3 separate regions of the Homo sapiens genome follow, and all the other regions are linked to region 1. The links are contacts of gene promoters, found by promoter capture Hi-C in human tissues and cell types (Jung and others, 2019). All regions are on one chromosome and are shown on one strand. Each heading gives the region's core, a stretch centred on a gene start or on the middle of the fragment in contact. The rest is flanking DNA. Distances are from core to core; before and after follow the strand shown. Region 1 holds the start of C1orf56 (chromosome 1 open reading frame 56). Region 2 has its middle 8.6 kb from the start of SELENBP1. Region 3 overlaps GOLPH3L (golgi phosphoprotein 3 like).

Region 1 (3,555 bases), core at 975-3,474:
TGTGAGGATCGATTCAGGTAAAGTGCACATAGTAAGACCTCAAATTTTGGCACTTGTTGCTGTTAAGCTGTATTAGGTCAAAACTATTAATTGATTAAGATCCTTCATATCTGTTAATTATCTGTGCATCAAAAAGACTTTATGGGCCGGGCACAGTGGCTCATGTCTGTAATCCCAGAATTCTGGAAGGCCAAGGTGGGCAGATCCTTGAGCTCAGGAGTTGGAGACCAGCCTGGGCAACATAGCGAGATCTTGTTAGCCAGGCATGGTGGTGCACGTCTGTAGTCCCAGCTATTCAGCAGGCTAAGGTGGGAGGATTGCTTGAGCCCAGAAGATGGAGGGTGCAGTGAGTTGTGACTGCGCCACCACACTCCAGCCTGAGTGATGAGAGACCCTGTCTCGAAAAAAAAGTCTTATGGTCAGGGGCACAGTAGCTCATGCCTGTAATCCCAGCACTTTGGAAGGCTGAGGCAGGAGAATTGCTTGAGCCCAGGAGTTTAAGACCAGCCTGGGCAACATAGCGAGATCTTGTCTGTGAAAAAAACAGAGAATTTCCAAGACCAGGCATGGTGGCTCATGCCTATAATCCCAGCACTTTGGGAGGCCGAGGCGGGTGGATCACTTGAGGTCAGGAGTTCTAGACCAGCCTGGCCAACATGGTAAAATGCTGTCTCTTCTAAAAAAAAAAAAAAAATTAGCCGGGCATGGTGGTGGGTGCCTGTAATCCCAGCTACTCAAGAGGCTGAGGCAGGAGAATTGTTTGAACCTGGGAGGCAGAGGTTGCAGTGAGCCAGGATCACGCCATTGCACTCCAGCCTCGGCAATAAGAGTGAAACTCTTGTCTTGAAAAAAAAAAATATTTCCAATCTTAACTATTTGGTCAATAATCACCTAATGAGCAGTAAGACATTTTACCTAATGACCAACCAGTAGTTGCTCAATAAATAATAGGTGGAATCAATGGCTAACAATGTGAATAACCAATGCATGTTATGAATCAATAACCAGGTAAGTCAGTAACAGTTCATGTAAGCAACACTGGCTGGCTTAGCAACTGGGTTTTAGATACCAGGACTTTTCAGATCCGTCAACAAAGACCCTGGCTCATCACCAAACACTTACTGGTTGCATCTCTGTGAACACTGAAGAGAGGCTATTCCAAATATCCTCCAGGCCAATCCTGACCCGTTTCCAAAAAGCCAGGGCTGGGCAGGGGCTGGCGGGTGGCAGGCTGGGACTGCTTCTGAGGTGGATGGTGGGGAAGGGGGTAGTGGTGGTCCTGGTACTGGTGGTGCTCTGAGAGGCACAGTTGGTGTCAGTACAGAGACTTGTGTCCAGGGGGCACTCTTCCCGAAGTCGGTTGCAGGGACATTGTTGATAGGTGCAAGGCTTGTGCTCCGTGCGGAGCTGGCTCAGCGCCCCAACTCGAAGGCGCCCGGAAAGGCCGTGCAGCTTCCCAGACCGGCTCCGGCTCATGGTGCCCGACTTGCAGTGGCAGTGCCACGGGCCCCAGGGCATCAGCACCAGCCGCAGATCCTCAGGAGATGGCATGGCTGTGGGTGAGGGTGACGGCCACCGGCTCGGGGTAGACCCAGGTGTGGACCACTGGCTCAGGGTGGCCTGCGAGCCTGGCAGGTCCTCAGTAGACCTCCCGGGGGAGCGCGGCAGGCTTGAAGTCAGCCTGATTTCAGGCTCCTGACTATTGGCTATAAACCTCGTGCTGGAACTCCCCGCTGTATTGGGAGTCGCACTGGGAAGCTCTCTGCTGGTGCTATCCTTTCCGGCATTAATCACAACCCCCTCTTCTGAAGACCCATCCTCCTCGTTAATGGCGGACGACCGGCTAAAGCCGGTGGACACCGTGGCGGCCAAGAGCTCGGCAGCCGCTGGTCCAGCCAGGCGGTCGGCGTCGGCCATGGCATCATTCTCGTCCTCTAGGATTATCCTTGTCTTCCGGGGAAGACCAGTCCGGGCGGTGCTCCGGTAGCTGCGGGTCATGGGGCCCCCAAAGCGTAAACTGACCCGCTGCATTTCGGTCGGAGTCTGGGTCAGGCCTTGGGCCCCCGCCGCCCGGGGACCCAGATTCAGCAGCAGGACCCACAGCAGCGCGCCGGCGGCGGGGACCATGGGGCTGGGCTCTTGGGGTTGGGAGGGTGGCCAGTGAGGCAAGCCCTGCCTCCTACCTTCGCTCCCTCCCTTCCGCTGTAGACCCACCGGGTCGTTTGAACCGAGGCCCGCGGGGAAGGGGGTGGGGTTCGACGCGCAGGCGCGCTCGCGCGGGCCGCGCGGGGTGCTCCTAAGGAACCTCTGCGGCAAGAACTCTGCCAGAACCGAAGGTTTGGGATGCAAGGGGTGGTGAAAGAGTCGTTCACTTCTTTGGAGCAGAGCTTAAATGTCTCATCGCAGTTTATTAGCCTCTACAGTTCTAAATTTACTAAAGAGGGCAAAAATACAGGTTTTGAAAGCACTCCTTCCCAGGCTCACAGGCAGCAGACATGACTTAGAAGGAAAAAGGGCATACAGCGGTTCTTCAAGATTTAATGAGCTGACTCTCCTGGCTCCCAGCAGGCAGGCTGGCTGTCAGGTAAGCCTCTTCCATCCAAGGTGGAAGGATCACAGTCCCTCCAGTTAGACAGGAGGAAAATTAGGACCCAAAAAGATGAAGTTATTTGCCCAAGGTTCTACAGCTAAAGTAGGATTAAAACCCAGAGCTCTGGCCGAGCGCGGTGGCTCACACCTGTAATCTCGGCACTTTGGGAGGCCGAGGCGGGCAGATCACGAGGTCAAGAGATCGAGACCATCCTGGCCAACATGGTGAAACCCCGTCTCTACTAAAAATACAAAACAATTAGCTGGGCGTGGTGGCGTGCGCCGGTAGTCTCAGCTACTCGCTGAGGCTGAGGCAGAAGAATGGCTTGAACCGGGAGGCGGAGGTTGCAGTGAGCCGAGATCGCACCACTGCACTCCAGCCTGGCGACAGAGCGAGACTCCGTCTCAAAAAACAAAAAACAAAAAAACCCAGAGCTCTGCATATCCCATACAAAATGACCCTACATTCAGCCTTCCGTCCCAGCAACTGGAATGAAAGTCACCCAGCAGATCAGTTTCCCAGCCTCAAAGCCCTGCTGAAAGTAGGGTCATGCAAAGGACAAAATCCCACTGAGAAGTGAAGATCCGGTGGTACTGAGGTTGGGGATAAGATGATTTACAAAACAGTTCAGATGTTTCAGGGATTCAGGTGTAGGCAGATCACTAACTGGTTCTAAGGCCTTTTATCCAGTCCTGTGCTATGTCCCTCCTGAGCCATGGAGATCCCGGTCCAGCCTAGGAGAGGGAGAGGGGGAGGAGAGAAGTGGTTCAGGGGGTAGGACTTGGGTTTTATTTTCTGGTTTGGGGAGAGAAGCCAGGTGAATTGGAAGAGCTAGATGATTGGGTTGAGTCATCATTTAGCACTTTTGCTCCCTAACACCCTCTCCCCCACTGGATATCATCTGTTCACTGCCAACACATCTCTTCCTAATTTCTAGGGCCAGTCTGAATCTCCTCTGCACTGTG
Region 2 (3,339 bases), core at 493-2,992, 330 kb before region 1:
CAGCCACCACACCCAGCCTGAAAGTGAAAATCACAATTAGAAAATTCTATGTTTAAAAACTTACATTTTCAGCCGGGCACAGTGGCTCATGCCTATAATCCCAGCACTTTAGGAGGCCGAGGCGGGTGGATCACCTGAGGTCAGGAGTCCAAGACCAGCCTGGCCAACATGGTGAAACCCCACCTTTACTAAAAATACAAAAAATTAGCCAGGTGTTGTGGCACGAGCCTGTAATCCCAGCTACTTGGGAGGCTGATGCAGGAGAATCGCTTGAACCTGGGAGGCGGAAGTTGCAGTGAGCCAAGATCACGCCACTGCACCCCAGCCTGGGCAACAAGAGCGAAACTCAAAAAACAAAACAAAAAAACACAAAACATTAAATTTACCATCTTAACCATTTTTAAACGTATAGCTCAGTAGTGTTAAGTATTTCACACTGTTGTTCAACAGCTCTCTAGAACTTTCTCAGAAGGGCTGTATTGCTGCAACAACAACAACACAGCGTATGTTAGGTTCTGGGTGCTTTTCGAAGAGCTTTATGTATATCATCATGCAATTTTCAAAACACCCTATGAGGGGAATAGATATTTTATTTTCTCTCTTTTAGAGATGAGGAAACCGAGGTACAGAGAGGTTAAATTACTTGCCCAGATTCATAAAGCTAGTAACTGGTGGAAGTGGAATTCACACACACAGTCTGGTTCTAAAATTCTTGTTGTTAATCTCTTAATAATAGACCACTTCTGGCTGATGATGGTGTATAGTGGAGAGCCAGCCACCTGTAACCCAGCCTAGAATGTTTTTCTTCTCTGTAGTCTTCATGTATAACTTCTAAAGCTCTTAGGGTGGACTGAGGGGAGAGGGTATTGGCAAGACAGGGCTAGCCAGGCGACTCCGCAGCTTCTCTCTGCTGTTGGCAGCTTCACTCTCAGGGTTCCTTTCGGGCTCAACCCAGTTCTACTTAAGGATGATGAGCTCCTGGGCTTGGTTCCTGGGCTAGCTAGGTGGATCAGATAATCCCCAGTTCATAAGGAGGCTTGAGTCAAAGGCCACCTGGTGTCCCATCCTCTCATGTTTGGTTTCTCTTGGGACCCAGAAGCTCAGAAGAGGCTGTTTTTCAAGAGAACTGTTCTTTGCTGAAGTGGGCTGGGCTCAATCATTTGGGGTCACCCTGGGGACTCTCCTTCTGCCTCTTGCCTGCCTCATCCCATGGATCACCCCAACTCACCAAGCATCACTGGATCTGCTCGATCATAAGGCCCCAGTGGCAGAAGTGGTTGCAGCCAGAGAGCCCTTTCTTGTCCTAGATCCCAATCAAAGGACACTGCCTCTACCCCTCAAGTTCTATGTGCTGCCATGGCACCACCAGCTGCGCTGGACCCTGGGAGGTTCTGCAGCATGGTGACCCACCCGCACACCAGCCTTCCCTGCAGCAACCAGAACCCACTCCCTACTTCCTTGTGTTGGAGTCTCCGGTGGGCACACCTGGCTGCGTCCAAGACCAAGTCACATGCTTGCTCCTAGCAGCAAGGAGGCCTAAGGCCTGGGACGGTGAGTATCTGGCCTTTTGCCTCCCACCCAATATAGAAAGGGCTGAATGTGCTGGCCAGCCATCCAAGCAACAAAACACAAAAGCATTCTGTCTGAAGGGGCTGCGAACTTATGTGCATAGAGGTCCCAGGCCAGAGCCTGAAGCTACTGCCTGGCTTCAGATCCTGGGCTCTGCTACTCACTAGCTGTGTAACTTTGTATGAGTTGCTTCCTCTTTCTATGCTGTAACTTCTTTATCTGTAAATTGGACATAATGAAAATACCCACTTCATAGGGATGTTGTAAACCCTGTATAAGTAAAGGCAGAACATGCAAATAGCTCAGAGAAGTACTTGGCACATGGAAAGCTTTTATATGAGGTGGATGTGGTTCATTTCTCTTTCTTTATCCCTAAGTACTTCGAACAGTACCATGTATTTAATAAATGATAGCTGTTGTTATTTTATTATTACAGTTTGGGTATCCCTTATCCAAACTGCTTGGGACCAGAAGTGTTCCAGATTTCAGATTTTTTTCAGATTTTGGAATACATATATATATATTAAAATATCTTGGGGATGGGACCCAAGTCTAAACGCAAATTTATTTGTGTTTCATAAACACCTTATACACATAGCCTGAAGGTAACTTTATACAATATTTTAAATAATTTGTACATGAAACAAAGTCTTGACTGTGACCCAACACGTGAGGTCAGGCACGCAATTTGCTACCTGTGGTGTCACACTGGTGCTCAAAACATTTCAGATTTTGGAGCATTTTGGATTTCAGATTTTCAGATTAAGGATGCTCAACCTGTACCTATATCTTTTTTCTTTTTTTTTTTTTTTTTTAGACAGAGTCTCCCTCTGTCGCCCCAGGCTGCAATGCAGTGGTGCAATTTTGGCTCGCTGCAACCTCCACCTCCCAGGTTCAAGTGATTCTCCTGCCTCAGCCTCCCAAGTAGCTGGGATTGCAGGTGTGTGCCACCACGCCAGGCTAATTCTTATACTTTTAGTAGAGACAGGGTTTTGCCATGTTGGCCAGGCTGGTCTCGAACTCTTGACCTCAGGGGATCCACCTGCCTCAGCCTCCCAAAGTGCTGGGATTACAGGCGTGAGCCACCGCCTCAACCTGTACCTGTTTCTTGCCTACTTGTGCAGGTATTTCCATGGGATTGCATCCTTGAAGTGAAATTCCTAGGTAAAACAGTATGCACAGTTTAACTTTTGTGAGGTATTGACAAATTGTTTTTGTTAGTAAGGCACCAATTGACACTCTCATTAGTCCTAAATGAGTGGTCCCTTTGCCGCATAGTCTCACCAATACAAGATTTTAACCTTTAAATTTTTTGCCCATCTTATAGGCAAAAATGTTACTGTATTCTTTCACTGTTTCAATTGTTTACACATGTATTTCAAACTTAATATAAAATTTTAAAAATATGATTGATACATAATGTGAAAAATAAAAATTGCTCCCTGTAATCCAATTCTTGAGGTAACCACTGTTAGCTACATTTGGCATGATAAGGGAAGCTTTATCTCTACAAATCCTTTTCTTTAGGTTTTTTTTTTTTTTTTTAAGCGGAGTCTTGCTCTGTCGCCCAGGGTGGAGTGCAGTGGCACGATCTCAGCTCACTGCAACCTCCACCTCCCGGGTTCATGCCATTCTCCTGCCTCAGATTCCCAAGTAGCTGGGACTACAGGCGCCTGCCACCATGCCCGGCTAATTTTTTTTTTTTTTTTTTTTTTTGTATTTTTAGTAGAGATGGGGTTTCGCTGTGTTAGCCAGGATGGTCTCGATCTC
Region 3 (3,066 bases), core at 461-2,960, 380 kb after region 1:
AGGTGAGAGGATTGCTTGAACCAGGGAGGTGGAGGTTGCAGTGAGATGAGATCATGCCACTGCACCCCAGCCTGGGCGACAGAGCGATACCCTGTGTCCAAACAAAAACAAAACCAAAAAAACAAATATGACTTGGAGTAGCCATGAGGCAGGCAGGGGAGGGAACTAATCCCAACCTTGAGTCAAAGATCAGACCCTCAGGAAATTTGGAGATGTCTAAGGAATATTTTATGGCTCAAGCTGAACTTTTGCCAGGTTAACATTTACTTTTAAGCATAAATTTATGCTTTCAAAAATATTTTTGCGGCATAAGGGATATTCTCTCCTTAAGGAATTTGTAGTCTGGTCAGGAGAAATAGTTGTTTGCAATATGATATAATAGAAGTTATGAGAGAAGTATGTATGGGCACACCCAGGTGCAGAACCTAATCCAGAGGGTGGAGTGGAGAAGTAAACAATGTTAGAGAAGGTTATGTGGAAATGTGACCCCTGTACTTAACGCTTAACTACAAAGAGGAGTTTTGGAAGGAAGAATATTGGTTCTTTTCAACAGAGCAGTGTGTGCAAAGGCCAATAGGGGAAAGAGGCCAAAGAAAAGACTAGTGGGCCGGGCGTGGTGGCTCACTCCTGTAATCCCAGCACTTTGGGAGGCCGAGGCAGGCGGGTCACGAGGTCAGGAGATCAAGACCATCCTAGCTAACACGGTGAAACCCCATCTCTACCAAAAATATAAAAAAATTTAGCTGGGTGTGGTGGCGGGCGCCTGTAGTCCCAGCTACTCGGAGGCTGAGGCAGGAGAATGGCGTGAACCCGGCAGGTGGAGCTTACAGTCAGCCGAGATTGCGCCACTGCACTCCAGCCTGGGTGACAGAGAGAGACTCCGTCTCAAAAAAAAAAAAAAAAGAAAGAAAAAAAAAGAAAAGACTAGTAAATAGCCACTTTTGTTTTGTTTTGTTTTGTTTTTACAGACAAGGTCTCGCTGTGTTCCCAAAGGCTGGCCAACTCTTGGCCTCAAGCGATCCTCCTGCATTAGCCATTTGGATTCCATCCTGAAGGCTGAGAGGAATGTTTGAAAGATTTTTAAGCATGAGGGGAGGGAGTTATATCATTACACTTGATGTTAAAGATTGTCCTGGCTATAGCAGGACAAATAGAATTAGAGGTCCTCTAGCCCTGGCAGTATGGTGGTCAGATATTAAGTCTTGAATAAGCTTAATTTTTAATGTATTATTGAGTCTTGGAAAGTAGAAATAATCTTCAAGGGGCCCCCAAACACCAAAATTAAAATCCAAGAGGTGAGCAATAAAGATAACATGAAGATCAAATTACCCTGGGGCAAATTACCAAATCAGTCTTGAGATTCAGGAGTTGGTTGGTCAGGAATAAACTTGATGGTTGAGGTAAAGTGGGGAAACTAGGCTTAAATGTGCTCCCAGTTGTGTGGCACTCCCACAATCCCTCTGTACTTGGCTCTCGGCAGAAACAGATCTTTCCCTCTGAAGGAAGATGTCCTCAATTTAGGCCTCCAGAATCTCGTAAATTCACAAAACGTTAAACGTGAACCTCTTAATCAAAGATCATCAAACATACAAACAAGGAAGAAGTGACAAATAAAGTCCTCAGATATTGTCAGGTATCAAGGACCTCATATATTGTCCCATATTAAAATAATCAGACTAAAAATATGACATTTTTAAAGAAATAAAATAATCACAAAATAAACAAAAAATCACAAATCACCAGACAAATGTGAAAAATAACTAAATAAAACTTCTACTAATGAAAAATTGTTGAAATCAAAATCTCAGGGTTAGTTTGAATTAGTAAATAGGAAGCCGGATATTTTTTAAAAACTCTCCAAAGGCCAGGCTGGTGGCTCATGCTTGTAATTCCAGCACTTTGGGAGGCTGAGGCAGGCAGATCACCTGAGGTCAGGAGTTCAAGACCAGCCTGGCCAACATGATAAAACCCCATCTCCACAAAAAAATTAGCCAGGCGTGGTGAGGTGCACCTGTAATCCCAGCTACTTGGGAGGCTGAGGCAGGAGAATTGCTTGAACCTGGGAGACGGAGGTTGCAGTGAGCCGAGATTGTGCCATTGCACTCCAGCCTGGGTGACAGGTGAGACTCCATCTCAGAAACAAACAAACAAACAAAAACTCTCCAGAAAGCAATACAGAGAACAAGCAAATGGAAAATATAAAAGGTTAAAAGACGGGGTTAAAATAAAGACTGAAGTCCTAGAAGGAAAGAAAAAAGAAAATAAAGGAGAGCCAAAGTGCTTAGAGACCTAAGAGCTGAGAATTTTTGAAGCTAAGAAATGAAACCACAGTTATGGGAAGCACAACATATACCAAACAGAATAAATAAATTCATGCACAGTCATGTTATAGTAAAACTGCAAAACACCAAAAGAGAAGATCTTAAAGGACCAAAGAAAAGATACACCACCTACAAAAAAACCACAATCAATAAGAAAGATAGATTTCTCACTGCTATATTAGAAGCTGGAAGAAGAGGGCATACTATCTTCAATGTGATAACCTGGAATGATCAACCTGGAATTTTATGTCCAGAGAAACTATCTTTCAAGGATGATGGTGAAATACAAAGACATTTCAGATAAGCAAAATAGAAACTGCCTCCAACAGACTTTCACTTAAGGAAATTCTACTTTAGGAAGAAGAAAAATGGTGCCAGAAAGGAAGTCTGAGATACAGGAAGGAACGGTGAGCAAAGAAATTCGTAAGCACCTGTGTAAATCTAAACAAGTGCTACCTGTATAAAATAATAATGATGATGATGATATCTAATTTATGAGGCTAAAAAAAAATACTGGACAACTAAAAGAGTGGTTAAAATATTAATATTTAAAATTTAGGTTTTATGTTAATTTTAAATTAATGTATCATGCATGTTAAAATTTCAAGGATAACTTCTAAAAGTACATAACTTCCAAGCCAATAAAGAGGAAAATTGAATTAAAAAATTTTTTAAATAGTTATTATAGCTAGGTGCAGTGTCTCATGCCTGTAGTCTGAGCTACTTGGGAGGCTGAGGCAGGACA

Evidence for each region. Contacts are between HindIII fragments. The study calls those that stand out against the background at their distance.
Region 2: a fragment that was not itself captured here is called in contact with the fragment with the promoter of C1orf56 in region 1 in 1 of the 25 tissues and cell types used here (hippocampus).
Region 3: a fragment that was not itself captured here is called in contact with the fragment with the promoter of C1orf56 in region 1 in 1 of the 25 tissues and cell types used here (hippocampus).

Annotation. Positions count from the first base shown.
Region 1 is chr1:151,046,420-151,049,974 of GRCh38, reverse strand. It overlaps C1orf56 (chromosome 1 open reading frame 56), which reads right to left and starts at 2,224. Exons shown (of 2, transcript NM_017860.5): 1 at 1,123-2,224. The coding sequence starts at 2,127. BNIPL (BCL2 interacting protein like) reads right to left here. Exons shown (of 10, transcript NM_138278.4): 10 at 2,255-3,324. The coding sequence ends at 3,288. RefSeq lists enhancers at 1,327-1,566, 1,847-1,896. The HindIII fragment of the contact is 7,874 bases long and covers 1-3,555 here.
Region 2 is chr1:151,379,648-151,382,986 of GRCh38, reverse strand. No RefSeq gene overlaps it. Among named protein-coding and RNA genes, the nearest start is that of SELENBP1, 8.6 kb to the right of the region's middle. The HindIII fragment of the contact is 4,780 bases long and covers 1-3,339 here.
Region 3 is chr1:150,665,433-150,668,498 of GRCh38, reverse strand. All of the region lies in intron 2 of GOLPH3L (golgi phosphoprotein 3 like), which reads left to right. Among named protein-coding and RNA genes, the nearest start is that of GOLPH3L, 30 kb to the left of the region's middle. The HindIII fragment of the contact is 6,824 bases long and covers 1-3,066 here.